2 separate regions of the Homo sapiens genome follow, and region 1 is linked to region 2. The links are contacts of gene promoters, found by promoter capture Hi-C in blood cells and fetal thymus (Javierre and others, 2016). All regions are on one chromosome and are shown on one strand. Each heading gives the region's core, a stretch centred on a gene start or on the middle of the fragment in contact. The rest is flanking DNA. Distances are from core to core; before and after follow the strand shown. Region 1 holds the start of PDZK1 (PDZ domain containing 1). Region 2 holds the start of HJV (hemojuvelin BMP co-receptor).

Evidence for each region. Contacts are between HindIII fragments. The CHiCAGO score rates a contact against its expected background, and 5 or more counts as called.
Region 1: a contact is called between a fragment that was not itself captured here and the fragment with the promoter of HJV in region 2, in 1 of 17 cell types (activated CD4 T cells). The highest score is 5.5, in activated CD4 T cells.

What each region holds. Positions count from the first base shown.
Region 1 is chr1:145,701,607-145,707,526 of GRCh38, reverse strand. It overlaps PDZK1 (PDZ domain containing 1), which reads left to right and starts at 159. Exons shown (of 9, transcript NM_001201325.2): 1 at 159-210. RefSeq lists an enhancer at 1-1,111. The HindIII fragment of the contact is 459 bases long and covers 3,700-4,158 here.
Region 2 is chr1:146,020,475-146,025,919 of GRCh38, reverse strand. It overlaps HJV (hemojuvelin BMP co-receptor), which reads left to right and starts at 4,185. Exons shown (of 4, transcript NM_213653.4): 1 at 4,185-4,333. The HindIII fragment of the contact is 1,771 bases long and covers 2,596-4,366 here.

The DNA.
Region 1 (5,920 bases), core at 2,680-5,179, 320 kb after region 2:
TGAGGTTTGTCAGATTTTCCAGCTCAGGGCCCAGCCAGCTGGCAGGAAGCAGGACAGAGGTCACTTGAATTCAGACCACATGTCCCTGTTAAATACATTAGCTTTTAAATCAATCTTTGTTCAAAGTCCAGTGAGTTGCAAGCTTAATGCTCACCTGCAGAGACAGAATTCCTGAGTGAACGAACAGAGCAGCTCCTCTTCCATCTCCAGGTAAGAACTGCTCGTGTCCTCCTTGAGGGTGCTGGCCACCGGGGCCTGAACTACCTTCTTTCTTTTCCTTTTCCCTTTTTCTTTTTCCAAGCCAGTAGCTGGCTGTCTAGGGCAGAGAAGAGTCCCATGGGGAGGCAGCCAGGCCCCTTTGGCGGTGGTTGGGGGTGAGAGATGATCCACGCTCTGAGATTCTTTCTGCTGGAGATGCCCCTCACCTTTGTAGGCTAGGGTCTGCTTCACAAAGAAATTGGTAAACCGACCTCAGAAAAAGCCTTCCCGGGGTTGTGTGGGGGTTTGATGTGCAGCCAAAGGGAGTGAGACAACTGACTTCACAGGTAACCAGGCGGATATGCCCGGGACCTTCCTACTGATACAGGGGCCTTGGGTAGCAGAGAAGACTCTTCTGGAAGCAGCCTTTAAAGGATGCAGCCTAACTTAGCTTGCCCACTAGATAATAAAAGCAGGCATCTTTCCTCTCTGTATCACACTGCAGCACTAAGACATGAGAAAAACCAGTGGATTTCCAGGCTGGCTGAATTTTAAAACATACATTCCCCAGGCTCTCACCTTTGGCATTTCTAAGTCTCCAGGCCTTGTGTGAATTGAAAGATCTTTATTTGAAAACTCTCCCAGAATCATTCTGATCAGTGCAGGTAGGTTTGGGAACCACTAGTAGTTTATTTCTTAAGCAGAAGACTCATGAGACTTAAGTATGACACTTACCTAAGGGTTCACTCGCTATGAAGACTCCTGGTCTGGGTTGGGTCCAGCTATGAAGATTTGGGCGTTGGCTCTGAGAAACACATTCTTCTTTATTTACTAAAATCTCTGCAATGTGTCACCAGGGCAGCTTTCAGTCTTGTATCTAGAAGGCAAGAGGGGGTAGCAGGGACTGCCTCAGGCCATGATTGTCCAGTCATCTGAAGTCTGCAGCAAATTACTCAGGGTCTTTGAATTTCTGTGTTATGATAGTAACTTGTGCTTATCTTTGACTTTTGTATGTTCTCTGCACCATAGGGTGTGAAGTTGCTGGTAATGATGTCTTATATTCATAGACCACTGGCTAGGCAGCTACTTCTCCCCCAGGGGAAAGAACATAGGACTGGAATACAAATCATCAGAGTTTTGATTCAGTTGCTAGTGACAGGCCATTAGACAAACTACTTAGCCAACTGGAGCCTCAATTTCATTATTGATCAAGTGAAGGTCTGTCATCTTTTCCCCAAGAGTGTACTGAAAATAAAATTATAAGTACAAATGTGTGGTCCTGCATGGTGGCTCATGCCTGTAATCCCAGCACTTTGGGATGCCCAAGCGGGAGGATCACTTGAGGCCAGGAGTTCGAGACCAGCCTGGGCAATGAAGTGAGACCCCCGTCTCTACAAAAAATAATAATAAATTAATCCTGCATGGTGGCATGTGTCTGTGGTGTCAGCTACTTGGGAGGCTGAAATGGAAGGGTTGCTTGAGCCCAGGGGGTCGAGGCTACAGTGAGCCGTGATTGCATCACTGCACTCCAGCCTGGGTGACAGACTGAGATCCTGTCTAAAAAACAAAAAACCATGAATATGTTAAAAACACGATGTAAGATGCCTAGATTTCAAATGTGTATATCGAAAGTCTCTGTAGAATAGTAAGAAGAAACAAATTGCAGTCACTTGGGAAACCTTGTCCTAGTCTTTTAATCTCATTGAGCCTCTGTTTGCTCACTTACAAATAAGAAGTTGAGACCAGATCATCATTAATGTCTTTTTCAGTTGGCCAAGTATAAGGTAGATCCTGGAGCCTTGAAGGGTAGCTCCTTGTCATTGGGGTATGAATTAAAATGTCACCTCCCAGGAAGGACTTTCTAAATCAGCCTCCCACCTCCATGCCACCAGTATCTCTATCATTCACAGCGTGTACCATCAGAAATCATCTCATTTGGGCTGGGTGCAGTGGCTCACATCTGTAATCCCAGCACTTTGGGAGGCTGAGGCAGGTGGATCACCTGAGGTCAGGAGTTCAAGACCAGCTTGGCCAACATGGTGAAACCCCATCTCTACTAAAAATACAAAAATTAGCCGGGCGTGGTACTGCCTGTCTGTAGTATTAGCTACTTGGGAGGCTGAGGCAGGAGAATTGCTTGAACCTGGGAGGTGGAGGTTGCAGTGAGCCAAGATTGTGCCATTGCACCCTAGCCTGGGTGACAAAGTGAGACTCCATCTCGAGAAAAAAAAAATCATCTCTTTTACTTGTCACCTTTGCCAGATGTTAAGCTTCAAGACTGCAGGGATCTTGTCATTTGTGTTACTTGCTGTATTACCAGCCCCTTGAGCACTACCTGGCATAGAACATATTTGCATAAATGGAATTAGTGTGGCAGGGAAGGAGCTAGAAGAATAGATGCAGATGGCGATGGCTTTGATGAGGTGTTCCTCAGGAAAGGAGGTTGAAGGACTCCAATCCTCTCTCAGGGCATCTGAAGTCCAGGGTCTAATCATATGGGAATGGGTTTCTCTGGTCACTTCTTAGTGAAATGATTCTTGCATTCGTTGCATAGGGATGCAATGAGAGTGGCAAGCTGGAGCTAGACGTGTTTTCCTCAAGATCTCAGCAACTTCTTTCTTTGGTCCTTCATGAGGGACTGCCCAGATTTCCTTAATCTCTTTGCCTGATGGGTATCATGGCTAAGTGATTAAGAAAATGAGCACTGGGATTGGAAACCTGCACTCTAGATCAGGCTCTCTAAGCTTCTATTTCCTTGTCAGTCAAATGGGCATATTAGAACCTAGTTCCGGAAGTTATGAGGGTTAAATGAATGCACATAGTGTCTAGCACATCTTAAGTGCTATTGAGATAATCTTCAGACAGCTTTGCTATTACATGACCCCCGGAAATGAAGGAACCCAGGGAATGGCAGGAGTTTTGGAAAGTAGAAAAGATAGCCCTAGCCCACTTAGTGGCAACTAGAGAAGGTTTGCTTTTGGTCTGAGGTGGTCACTGGTTTCTGAGGTGCCAAGCCTGGTTGGAGGCACAGATAGTCAGCATTCATAAAGCTGCGTAGAACCATGGGGTCCCAATGGGGACATGAAACTAAATGATCCAGAAAAGCCCGTGGACTTTCCACCAGTTGTATTGAATACATACCTGATGGTGTGAGAATACAGAAAGGGGCTGTGGTGCCTGCTCTTAAGAAAGCTTATCTTGGCTGGGCATGATGGCTCACGCCTGTAATCCCAGCACTTTGGGAGGCTGAGGAGGGTGGATCACTTGAGGTCAGGAGTTTGAGACCAGCCTGGCCAACATAGTGAAACCCCATCTCTACTAAAAATACAAAAAGTAGCCGGGTGTGGTGGCGGGTGCCTTCAATCCCAGCTTCTCAGGAGGCTGAGGCAGAAGAATTGCTTGAATCCAAGTGGCAGAGGTTGCAGTGAGCCGAGATCGCACCACTGCACTCTAGCCTGGACCACAAGAGCAAGATTCCATCCCTCCTGGCCAAAAAAAAAAAGCTTATCTTGTTGGGGACACACGACATGGATCCTGAAGCTCCTCTATAGTCTACTGGACTGAGTCCAGTGCTCACAGTCTAACCTACTTCTTTTTTTCAACATATAACTGTGCTCTGATCTTTCTGAACCATTCACCATTCTGGGAATGCATCTCCTGCTGTTCCTTCTGCCTGGGATGACTTCCTCTTCCTAGTCTGACTACTTGTATTTCCAGAATACATTCTACACCTCAGGCCTGGGAGGCAGGGTAGATGGTGGAAGGAATCCAGACTCAACTGGGTTTGAATCCAGACTCTGCTTATCCAAATAGTCAGGGGAAACCAAGTTAACTTTTCAGAGTCTCTTTTCTTTTTCCTTGTAAAATGGCCCATCAGGATTGAATCAGAACCCATAAAAAGTACCTAGGCTGGTTCCTAATCCTAGTAGGGAGCTCAATAAATATATATAACAATAAGAAAGCTTTTGTATTTAAATATTCCAGCACCCACAACGTTGTTCAGCAGTTAAACTTCATAACTCTCCCCACTGGACTCCAGGCTCTTTCAGGGCAGGACGGTAGCTATTCTGGGTTGAGCCCTGATACCTGCCTCGCAGTAGGTATTACATAGAACTTGTTAAGTACATGAGCGATAACTGAAATTCAGAAGATGAAATGATACCTTCAGACTGTGGTGGTCATGGAAGGATTCGTATATAATCTAAAATTTGAACTGAGCCTTGAAAATGGTAGGTCTTAAATTCGTTCACTTGGAACAAATGTTTACTTAGCACGTACTATGAGTAAGTGCTCATGGGGCATGAGCAAAGGGCAGGCTCGTGTGGGTGACCATGCATAGACCAATTGGGGCTTGCTGAGGAGCTGGGGGCCTGAGGTAGGGCTGGATTATGCTGAGCCTCAGTGCCTGAGCAAGAAGCTTGAACTTCTTTTTTTTTGAGACGGAGTCTTGCTCTGTTGCCCAGGCTGGGGTGCAGTGGCACGATCTTGGCTCACTGCAAGCTCCGCCTCTTGGGTTCACACCATTCCCCTACCTCAGCCTCCCGAGTAGCTTGGACTACAGGCGTCCGCCACCACACCCAGCTAATTTTTTGTATTTTTAGTAGAGATGGGGTTTCACTGTGTTAGCCAGGATGGTCTCGATCTCCTGACCTCGTGATCCGCCTGCCTTGGCCTCCCAAAGTGCTGGGATTACAGGCGTGAGCCACTGCACCCGGCCGAGCTTCTTTTTCTTGAATTATTATTATTATTATTTTTGAGATGGTAGTATAATAAAACCAGGGTTAGAAAGTTTGTCTCGAGGCAAGACTCTTGTAGTAGTTTAAACATACCAAAAAAAAAGTGGGGGGGTAGAAATGCAAGTTCAAAAAGTCACAAAATGTCGATTTGGGGAAAGCACTTGTCTCAGCTGGCACTCAAGGCGGTTGAGCTGTCTATCAGCAGCATGAGGGTGTCCTCTCTCTGTGGGTGCCTCTGTTTCCACACAATATTGGCTCTATCCCTCTCCCAACTCATAGAACTCTTAGATAAGCAATCAAACTGTGAAAGGCCTTGAACTCCAGCCCAGAGTCTTGCCATATAGGACAAAGTATTGTTTATGGTGGCTGGAGGTAGGGAAGGTACTTAGTATCAGCAGGCCAAATGAACTTTGGGATAAGTAGATTCCATTCTTGATCATAAATGAGAAATAAAAACTACTCAGTGGGTCTGGGATCACTCTTCTCCAGATAATTCTCAATGGAATGGATTTCATTGATTTCTCATATTTGAAATTTATCCCTGGCTAAGACCAAACAGTAACTATCACAATGGGAAAGTACACTAGGCAAATACATATTTTAGAATCTTGCTTCTCCTTCTATTTTTGATATTAATTATTTAAAGTAAATATACTTGAGTATTTGAATTTCCATATGCTTTGCTTTTCAGAGGAGAAATCCAGGCAGCCTTAAATATGATCTGCATAAAAATATAGGATCTGTTCTAGGTAAAATATATTTGAAGAAGGGTGAAATTGAGTTGTCTTTATCTCTTCCTTGCTAGAGACATCTGTCAGTAGCAGCTCAGATACAGCAGGATTTTTTTGCTTATGCTGTTGGAAGGAACAGCATGTGCCAAGGCTCTGTGGCAGGCTCTGAAGGAGGCCAGCCATGGCTGGTGTGAGGCATGAAGCCTTGGAGTCAGGGCTGATGCCTGTAGGGAATTCTCAGCCTGTCTATAGTTG
Region 2 (5,445 bases), core at 2,936-5,435:
CTTTACCAATTTGGGTTATAATCCTCTTGCTTCCTAGGTAAGAATTATTTAGACACCCAATCACTGAAACGCCCCCACTTCTTAACAGTATTCAATCCCAAATTAGTCCTCATTCAGAGTTTTAGAGACTAGGAAAAAACAAACAAACAACAAAATCAGCCCTCACTATTCTAAACTGTAGTTCAGAAATATCCAACAGAAGCTGAAACTCTATAAGAGGTTCCTTTTAACCTCTCCTTAGGGAAATGGTCCCATAATTCCTTTGGGGCATTCTCTCCCTTGCTACAGCAAGCCAGTAGATTTAACTTTTTTGACTACAGATTTGTTTCCAGTGGTGTTTAGTTAATGAGCTTTGACAAAGATAATGGTCAAATTTCTCCAATATCAATTGACTATGTGAAGAATATACATATATATACACACACACACACACACACATATTTGTGTGTGTGTATGTAATATATACATATTTATATAAGAACATATTGGCAGGGCGCAGTGGCTTATGCCTGTAATCCCAGCACTTTGGAAGGCCAAGGTGGGCGGATCACTTGAGCCCAGGAGTTCGAGACCAGCCTGGCCAACATGGCAAAACCCCATCTCTACTAAAAATACAAAATTAGCTGAGTGTGATGACACATGCCTGTAATCCTAGCTACTCAGGTGGCTGAGGCATGAGAATCACTTGAACCCAGGTGGCAGAGGCTGCAGTGAGCCGAGATCTCTGGGTGACAGAGGGAGACCCTGTCTCAAAAGAAAAAGAAAAGAAAGAACGAACCCAGGTCATTTGTCCTGTAGAGTATTCACAAAGTCTGAATTTGCACCTTTGAGTTACCACTTAATGTCTCCTGTATTTCCTGTAAATTAGTAGTTAGCTCTAATCAGATTCAGACTGGTTTGTTTGTTTGTTTGTTTGTTTGTTTGTTTTTGGTATGGCTACTTCATGCAAGGTGGAGTTATGTACTCTATGATCAGGAAAACATGTTTATCTCTGTTTTCATGATGAATAACAGCCACTGTTTTTTTGTTTACGTAGAGATGGGCTCTTACTATGTTGTCCAGGCTGGTTTTGAACTCCTGGGCTTAAGCAATCCTCCCACCTCAGCCTCCCAAAATGCTGGGATTACAGGTGTGAGCCACTGTGCCCTGCCACAGTCATTGTTGACCATTGCCTAGATATATTAATTCATTTGGATTTACAAAATGTTGATATTCTAATTATATTATCCCTTCTTCAATTATTTACTGGAATGCTTCTATAAAGAGAAATTTCCCCCTCATCTTGAGATACAGTTCCCAAAAGAAAACCAGGATAAATACTTGATTCTTTCCAATTACCAGCAGTTTTTAAAATAATGAGTTGATCTGCCAGCATTCTCCAACAATGACCAATGGGTTTGTATTTTTAAGTATCATTGTGAATTCATGGATTTAAACATATTTTATGAATTTCAATCCATTGCAGATAGTATCCATTTTGATACTTAAATTGCCCCATCTTTGGCCAATGGGAACTATTCTAGTTGGCTCCTAAGTTCTTTTATTACAATCCTAACACTCTTTGAAAGCTTCCTTGCCTATCTTGGACAATACCTGCCCCAAACCTGAAATCAGCCACTTATCCAAGGAGTTGTTTGTTGGTCCCTTTTAACAGAAAATGGTATTTACATAGCACAATTTGAGTACTAGAGGTGTTTATTTTTACTGGATCATTGTTTCCAGGCCTTTTTAGGGTAAAGCTAGGAAAATTTTAAGGATAAAATAAACCATGAGTTCAGAGTTATATTTGCAATTTAAATTCAGAATTACGGAGTTTTCTCTTAACTTCATCAATCGTAAATATGTATCTCTTTATTCCACCCCAAAAATTCTGGTTCTCAGAGACACTAACATTATTAATCATTTGTTTTATCTCATAACTAAAATAATCTCAGAATAACAATACCAACACTAACACCATAATATGGCTATTTAAAAATATTTTTGCATTTATTTTCTGGCATTATAGTATATCCCACTTAGGCTGTCATAGTCAAATTATTATGTTTTAAAGTCACTTGAATAGTTTGGTTAGAAGCATTTTACATTTCTATAATGAAACTGCTTGTGATATGGCCTCTAATGGTTGAGAAATATTTGTCATATATATATACCTGAGAAGTATATATTTGACAAAAATATTTGTCATATATATACCTGAGAAGAGTGCTATGAGGGCCTCTAGACTCTGTATTAAAATAGAGCCAACTGGTAAAGATGGCTTAGTGATTGTGTTGGTTATTACTGAGTGTCAATTTGATTGGATTGAAGGATACAAAGTATTGATCCTGGGTGTGTCTGTGAGGGTGTTGCCAAAAGAAATTAACATTTGAGTCAGTGGGCTGGGAAAGGCAGATCCACCCTTAATCTGGGTGAGCACAATCTAATTCACTGCCAGCACAGCTAGAATAAAAAGCAGGCAGAAAAATATGAAAGGAGAGACTGGCCTAGCCTCCCAGCCTACATATTTCTCCCATGCTGGATGCTTCCTGCCCTTGAACATCAGACTCCAAGTTCTTCAATTTTGAGACTGAGACTGGCTCTCCTTGCCCCTCAAGCTTGCAGACAGCCTACTGTGGGACCCTGTGATTGTGTAAGTTAATACTTAATAAATTCCCCTTTATTTATATATCTACCTATATAGATATCCATATCTATATAGATATTAATAAATCTAGAGAGACAGAAAGCAGACTGGTGATGGCCAGTCTAGATGGCTAGATAGATAGACATGGATATAGATATAGATCTCTATATAGATAGAGGTAGATACAGATATAGATATATGCCCTATTAGTTCTGTTCCTCTAGAGAACCCTAATACAGTGACCGTATTTGGAATCGGTCCTTCTGTTAATTTCACTTGGCAAGTACTAAAAGATGATGATCTCAGATATACCTATGGCTGCAAAAACATGACATGGCTAAATCCCTTGGTTGCAGTATCTCTTTTCTTTTTTAAGGGGGGTGGGGGGGCGGGTCTCACTGTTGCCCAGGCTGGAGTGCAATGGCGTTATCATAGCTCACTGCAGCCTCAAACTCCTGCGCTCAAGTGACCCTCCTGCCTCAGCTCCCAAAGTGCTGAGATTTTGCAATATTTATGGTCACAAGATTATGTTATTCCATAAAAGTATCTTTCTGAGGCTAGGCATGTTGGTTCACACTTGTAATCCCAGCACTCTGAGAGGCTGAGATGGAAGGATTCATTGAGGCAAGGAGTTCAAGACCAGCCTGGTCAACATAGTGAGACCTCATCTCGGAAGGAAGGAAGGAAGGAGGGAGGGAGGGAGGGAGGGAGTGAAGGAAGGAAGGAAGGAAGGAAGGAAGGAAGGAAGGAAGGAAGGAAAAGTATATTTTTGAATCTTTTTCTATTTCTCCAACTCTTTCTTTAGAAGAATTCTATTTCCATTCTTTCTTCACCTCTTTGCCTTTGTTAGCCTTCTCTCCAAGCAAATCGGGAGCCTTTATTTTTTGTGTATTCATGAGGGAGAGGAAGATGAATTGCTGTACAAACTAAAGTAATGAAAATGGAGTAGGTAGGAGGATAGACAGCTGCAAGGATCTGAGCTGGATAGACTGAACAAACCCTCATCCTAAGCAACTCACAGCTCAGATTTCTTCTCTGGACAGCTGGCTTTTTTCGTCCTTCTGAAATACTCTGCAAAGATAGGAGAGGGGCTATGAACTACCTCTGCTATGGATCTTATTCAAAGTCAGCTACCTCCTAGATACTATCTGTAGAACCTAAATGTAATATTCAGCATAGCAGGGATGAACATGGTAAATGAAAGGTATCCAATTGCCCACTGTAATTTTTAAAGGCCAGGAGCTCAACATTATTGAAAATGCTGGAGGGCTGCCTGGAGTAGGCAGTGACCACAGAGTCACACAAGCTGGAATTGGATATCCAACTTGTCTGTCATATTTCTCTCCTCCCTCCCTGACTTGGCACTCAATACTCCATATTCTTTCTAATCCTCTAACCCTCCCCACTCCCCCAACTCCCACACCCTACCCCCACCAACGTTCCTGGAATTTTGGACTTAGCTATTTTTAAAACCGTCAACTCAGTAGCCACCTCCCTCCCTGCTCAGCTGTCCAGTACTCTGGCCAGCCATATACTCCCCCTTCCCCCCATACCAAACCTTCTCTGGTTCCCTGACCTCAGTGAGACAGCAGCCGGCCTGGGGACCTGGGGGAGACACGGAGGACCCCCTGGCTGGAGCTGACCCACAGAGTAGGGAATCATGGCTGGAGAATTGGATAGCAGAGTAATGTTTGACCTCTGGAAACAGTAAGTCAAAATGAAATTGCAATTCCTTTAATAAGCTTTTATATTGAAGTTAGACTTTTATAAAATTACAAACACCTACTTGGATGTCTCTCGTCCAAATGCTGGGATCTCTCCCTACCAAGGTGCCCCAATCTCCATTTCTCTTTCTGTCTTATTTCTTTCTGGCCTCTGGCCTCTAGCTTTTTGAAGTTTAATTCTCTGTCTCTCCTCTGGCAGTCTTAGCCCTCTCTTTACCTTATTACCTCAAGACTCCTGATGAAGTTTTAGAAGGAGTTCCCTACGTCCTCTATTCTGTAGTTTTCTTACCAAGGCCAAATATGACCTCAGATGATGAGTCACTGATACCCTTCTATCCTGCCCCCACTTAGCAATGCCCTTCACATTGAGATTCCAAGCATGGGGGCTGCTCCCTGTAAATGATTTCTCCCCACAACTCTAGTCCCTCCATTCTATTCTCCCTCTTGCAGGACTCTTCCCCCAATCATATCCTTACCCATAAGATAGGGGAGTTAGGCAGGAGGGATTTAGCCCCTCTCCAACTCCTGTCATCATAAAAGACTGAGAACTTCAGAATTTGAAAAGAAGAGATTAATGGAAGGAGTGATATTTGGGAAAATACAAGAACTGTTGACTTAGAAAAAACAAATATTGATTTGCATGTTTGGTTTGCATCCCATTATTCCATGAGAGAGGGAGATTAAAATTGCAGCTCTCTAGAGCTGATGAAAAGAGATTGGTTTCCTTTTCATTTGAATACTGATATTCTAGACGGGATGGGTATGCCACCCTTAATCCTTCTTGTGTTCTGACACAAAGGAGGAAAAGAAATGTATGACTCCTAGAGGGCATCTCCTCCTAATGGAGAGGGACAAATAAGAAGTATGTTTCTGAAATATTTTCAGGTCCTAATTTTACTAGGGTACCCACTAGGATTACTGGTATCTGATCTAGCCCCATGATTCCTCCATCTTTGACATACCTGCTGTTTGGTAGCTCAGAATGGAGCAATACAGTGGACTCTGCCCCCTTGAGTTCACTCAACCTTCCCTCCACCCCCACCTAGGGGTATTGCACAAGGGCCCTAAAAGTGGCCACAGGAACAGGGCAAAGAG